Regions from separate parts of the Homo sapiens genome. Here region 2 is linked to region 1. The links are contacts of gene promoters, found by promoter capture Hi-C in blood cells and fetal thymus (Javierre and others, 2016). All regions are on one chromosome and are shown on one strand. Each heading gives the region's core, a stretch centred on a gene start or on the middle of the fragment in contact. The rest is flanking DNA. Distances are from core to core; before and after follow the strand shown.

Region 1 (2,838 bases), core at 21-2,520:
TGCAGGATTTGAGACAATGAGCGTTTAGTACAGCCCAGTGTTCTTGATTTCTCATTAGGAGCAACTTTCCAGGGCACTGAAGCGAACCAGGAAAAGAAATGGGGAGGGTAAGCCAAAGGGGTCGCTGCTCTTCAGTGTCAAGTTGGAAAGAGCTTGCTGCGATCAATTATGCTGAGAAGGTAGGGCCTTGAGAGGGAAGGAAGGATAGAAAAAAACAGTTTTACAGGGCGCTGAAAAAAGTGATAGAAGAGAGGTAGAACTGCTTCCTCCATCTTTCACGTCAAGTTCAAGTTTTTCTTTTTGTTCTATAAGAACTTTTGTCTTTATGGTGCTTGCTGCGGTTTGCTGATGTAGTTCCCAGGTCCTGCCTTCCTCTGGTGACTTATTAACGGACTGGCAACGGCTGAGTAAAATGCACTTAAGAAAAAAGAAATCACCTCTCTTTGCCAAGACTCACATGCTGCCCAGTACCTGAGGGAGAGCTCCGTTGTCGCTGGCCAAGAGAAATTCCAGTTTAACCTATGCCTCCCCTAGCCAAATCCATTGCAAATAAATGTGTGTGTGCCACTTGCAGAGAATCTGCCTGACTCACCCCCCGCCTTTGGCGTGCCAGGGAGAGATGTAAATGCTCCGTCCTGGAGCTGGCAGTGAAGTGGGGGCCGCGGCCTCGGTAGCACCAAGAGTCCCCAAATCTCCCCCTGTGATGGGTTTAGGGATGTGTTCCTCTCAAGCAGGTGCCTGGTCACAGGGCGACCACCCAGGCTCACAGCAACACACGTGTCACTGAGCCCGAGCCCAGCCCGCCGCAGAACTGGCCCCGCAGTCCTCGTAAAGACGCCCAGTTGCGCGCAGGGGACTTAGCAGTGAGGGAGAAGCAGACCACCCAAACTCTTCCTCTAAACCCTAAGAAGGAAAAAAAATACTTTTCCGCGGAAGCAGCCTCCACACACCGCCCGCGCCCAGCTCAGGGGATGCCCGGCCCGCAATTGACCTCTCTCTCCCTCCCAGGAGCGCGCTGAGGCCGCCTGCGCGCCCTACGGAATCGGCCCCCGGGCCCGCGCCCGCCTCCGCCTTGGAGCGAGGGACCCCATCGACCCTCCCGGCAGCTGCCGGGGCCGGGCGCTCACCTCCTGGGGTCTGGCTTCCGTCGCTCCTCCAGTTTGGCGGCGGAGTGTGGGGCTGCAGCGGCCACTGCCACTGCCGCCGCCGCCGCCGCCTTCGCTGCCACCGCGGCCGCCGCCGCCACCGAAGCGCTGCCCGGCGCGCCGCCGGGGTTGGAGGCTGGGGGGCCGCGGAATCCCTGGAGGCGCGAGCCCGGGACGCGGCGGGGCCGAGCCGCGGGAAGTTGTCTGCGCCGGGCGCGGAGCGAGCGGGGCGCCAGTCACCCGCGCCCAAGTAGTCACAACTTTGCCGCCTGGGTGGGTGCGCGCTCCGGAGAGAGGCGAGCGCGGGAGAGCGGGGCAAAGGCGCTGGGGCGGGAGGGTCTTCGGAGCAGGCAGGACTGCAACCTGAACGGCCCGCGAGGAAAGGGGAAAGGTGGCGCGGGGGGATGTCTACACAGCCTGTGTGGTGCGCGGCGAGCGAGTGTGTAAGAGCGCGGGCGTCTACTCTACTTTGCCTCCTGCAGCTCCTGCATATTTATGGGGATCTCTGATGTTCCTGCTAGTAACTAACACTGCAGCAGTGGAGCCCAGCCCAGGCGCCCCTCGGGAGCAAGCCGGGGTGCGGGGGCTCACGGAAGGCGGCCGCGGCGGAGGCTGTGCCGCGAGCGCGAGCCTGCGATCCATATTTAAAGCCGTAAGTGGCCTCGGCCGGCCCCCTGCCCTGCCCTCGCTCGTGCCCGCCAGCCCGGCCCCCACCGCTCCGGGCCGCTGCTCGGCGTCAGCCGCCCGGGCATCGGCGGCGGGGAGGGGCCTCGAGCCGCGCCGCCTCCGCCGGGGGCTTGGGCTCTGTGCGCAGCGCCCGCCCGGAGCTGGCGGAGGACCCGGCTCCGGACCGGCCGCTCTTGCCTCCCAGGTTCCTTTTCTCTCACGCCCTGGGCTGGGTCCTAGGTCCAGCTTTTTGTCCTACTCAAAAGAGTTCCCCAGTGGGGAGAGCCTGTGCTTTCATGCAGAACTAAAATTGCGTGAGTTTCCCAGCTCAGATCACTCTTGACTCTACTTTATAAAACTTGGGGCGTATAGAGTGCTGCCATAACACAGTATTAAGTAATTGTTCACCTTTAACAAAAGATGTCTGAAGATAACGTGGTTGTCAACTGTGTCCTTCACTTATGTCACTGATGCCTTTCTGTCTTCCTTGGGAGTTAGGAAAACAGCCTTAGCAAAGTGATTATTTGTATTTATTCTGTTCCTAAGTCTAATAATGAGGTTCAAGTACTCTTTGCCAAGCAAATAATATATCAGTGATCCAGCACCATTGCCATTGGTAAACTATTGAATCATAAGTAAACCATTAAGATATGAACAGACTGTCAGCACAGACACACCATCTATTGTTCTGGGTACTGCTAGAGAGTAGTCACTTAATGGATTGCAACCACATGGTATATCATGCAAGTGTATATCATTTTCTAGTAATACATATTATATGTAATGTGTATGTGGACATCACTGACCAAACTGTGTTTTCAACAGTAGCCACCAAAATGCATAAAGCTCAAGAGAAATAATTTAACATACCAACTGCTCCTGGTCCCCAGTATTTCTTCAATACAAAGCTATAGCTTATAGGACCTCCAAGAGAAAAAAAAAATGAGGGTAGGGAGGAAATAATTTGAGGACAGAGGCTTTTCTTTCTAGTATTCAAAACTGGAAGAGATCCAGAGATCCATGGTGC
Region 2 (2,819 bases), core at 147-2,646, 200 kb after region 1:
ATTTCTTAGTAAAACTTCTACTAAACATGGTTGTTTAAACCTTAGAGGAATAATTAATTAGAATCTTTGTGTTGCAAAATGCTCATTGCAGATGTTATATAAGGGATTAACAACTTATAATACATTTAGTACAACAGAGGTAAATGAACCTAATTATCAAAATGTAGGTAATTTTACAATATATATTTCTTTACACACAATAAATGAATAACAGAGTGTTTTTATTTTTTTATTTTTTGAGACGGAGTCTTGCTCTGTCGCCCAGGCTGGAGTGCAGTGGCACAGTCCGCCTCTCGGATTCAAGCAATTCTCCTGCCTCAGCCTCCCGAGTAACTGGGACAACAGGCAAGCGCCACCGTGCCCGGCTAATTTTTTAATGTATTTTTTAGTAGAGATGGGGTTTCCCCACATTGGCCAGGCAGGTCTCAACTCCTGAGCTCGTGATCCGCCCACCTCGGCCTCCCTAAGTGCTGGGATTACAGGCGTGAGCCACCGCGCCCGGCCCACAGGGCGTTTTTAAAGCATGCAGACACAGTCCACAACAGCATTGGCTAGCATTTCAACTAGTCTTTCTCCCAAATACCATTAGTGACTTTGAGCAACTGTGGCTACTACCATTAAATATTCTTAACCTGAAGATTCAAACACAAATGCCTCTAACATAAATACTTCTGATACTCTGAGAAGACTTCTAAAATACACGTTTTGGCCAGGCGCGATGGCTCACGCCTATAATCCCAGCACTTTGGGAAGCCAAAGCTCATGGGTCACCTTAGGTCAGGAGTTTTGAGACCAGCCTGGCCAACATGGTGAAACCCTGTCTCTACTAAAAATACAAAAAATTAGCCGGACATAGTGGCATATGCCTGTAATCCCAGCTACTTGGGAGGCTGAGGCAGGAGAATCACTTGAACCCAGGAGGTGGAAGTTGCAGTGAGCTGAGGTCGTGCCATTGCACTCCAGCCTGGGCAACAGAGCAAGACTCCGTCTCATAAATAAAATAAAATAAAATACACATTTCCTTTTGGAACTTGGTAAATGATTCTCCAATATTATTAATATTCCTTAATGATCTGTAATGAAGACAAAATATTAAATAATAGCTTGGTGAAGAGGTCAACAAATGATTATTACTGTGCTAACTGTTCTCACTGTAATAGTATATATTATAGAAAACATACACCTGCATACTGCAGAATAAAGAAAAAAGTGAAAAAAGTAAAACAGAAACACTGGTTTCAAGTTCAGACACAGTAGGGTTTTAAAACCGTAATCCAAATCAGTGACTTGTACAATTTCTGAGCTTTAGTTTTCTAAGATGTTAAGACACTGGTTGTTGTGAACATTACAGAAAATAGTGCCTAACAAATTTTAAATGTTCAACATATTCCATATGCCATCAATATTTCCCTTGGAATGTGTTTAGTGTGGGAATGCCTATAGCAAAAATAAACAGTAATGCAAAGTCAGGATTCATGGCCAAACGTAACTATTTATTCATTTTTTTCTTATAAACATTGAGTTTCTTCTTTAAAAAAAAAAAAACACCTAGAATTTAAATATTTCCCATCCCATCACATACAAGTCTGTATACATTATTTACATCTTTTGAATAAAACATATTACAGATTTTCTGACATCAGTATCCCTTTTTAAACAAAAATGAAGCAATTAAACTTTGATCAGTAACAACTACAATTTGCATAATCCGGCACAGTTTGTAATATAGCGCCTATGTTGGATTTCATAACTTAGATGATTTTTCCCCTTCTAGTTACTTGATTATAAGAGAGAAACTGTCTCCATGAGAGTAGTTCCCTGTCTTTATGCACTCTTCTCAATACTTGCACAGTGTAAATGCCGCCCTTATTCTTCCATTACTTGGCACTGACAATATTCCTCTGCTTTTGTCTTCAGAAATGATTTCTATTTGAACTTTAAGTGTTCTCATATATACTGTATTCTCCTTCAACCCAGATTTCATGACACTGTTCCTAGTGTTAATTCTATGCAGTAAAAGTTAAACCTATAGGAAAAGTTCAAATAAAACATCAAGTAAGTGTTTCCTACAAGATTAGTGCCCTCACCACCCTGGTTATGCATGTACAATAATAAATACAAGTTAGTAGCTCCAAAAAAACTACTTTCCCTAAAAAGTCATTTCTGTCGAACAATTTAAGGAGCAAAGCATCCTTAAAATGAAAATGCACTAATCTTTTTTACAACCTGCACAATTAAGTATTTCAGAAAAACAAAAACTTGTGCAAAATGGTAAGAAACGCCCACCTATACAAATTTAATATTAAATCAGATGAGAACATGAATTTATAAGTAAAAAACAATTTAATATTAATAATATATAGAGAAATTAAATATTGAAATTTTAACTTTGTATCACTAATAATCTCAGCTTCAGTGAAATAATTTAAAAAAAGCTGTCAAACACTAATTTCCTAAATAAACTGAAACCTATGAATTGACAGTAAATACTTCAGAATCTCTAACAATGAAGACCTGCAAAATCAGCCTAATTATTTTCCAGTGTGTGTGTACACGCACAGTGGAAAAACATACAGCTGGAAAAAGCCAGTGATTTTACTATCTACCTTTGAGAACTATAGCCCATATTTTTCAATTATTTAGTTCTATATGCAGAAAAAGTTATTACATTTGCAAAACTCATTTTTGTATTTTCTCTCTTTTGTCAAAATGTGAATCAGTTCAGCTACAAGTGACAGACATACAGTGCAGTTTTATACCTTCAAAATGGATTATTCTCTGTGATCAGCCTATTAGGAAAGCCTTAAAAATTCAGAATC

Evidence for each region. The method cuts DNA at HindIII sites, captures the fragments that hold promoters and counts their contacts. A CHiCAGO score of 5 or more calls a contact.
Region 2: a fragment that was not itself captured here is called in contact with the fragment with the promoter of SLC4A4 in region 1 in 1 of 17 cell types (total CD8 T cells); the score reaches 5.0 in total CD8 T cells.

The regions. Positions count from the first base shown.
Region 1 is chr4:71,185,691-71,188,528 of GRCh38, reverse strand. SLC4A4 (solute carrier family 4 member 4) reads right to left here and starts at 1,270. Exons shown (of 26, transcript NM_001098484.3): 1 at 1,128-1,270. LOC124900712 (a long non-coding RNA gene) reads left to right here and starts at 2,005. Exons shown (of 2, transcript XR_007058133.1): 1 at 2,005-2,838. The HindIII fragment of the contact is 10,115 bases long and covers 1-2,838 here.
Region 2 is chr4:70,986,822-70,989,640 of GRCh38, reverse strand. MOB1B (MOB kinase activator 1B) reads right to left here. Exons shown (of 6, transcript NM_173468.4): 6 at 1,473-2,819. Among named protein-coding and RNA genes, the nearest start is that of DCK, 5.4 kb to the left of the region's middle. The HindIII fragment of the contact is 3,316 bases long and covers 1-2,819 here.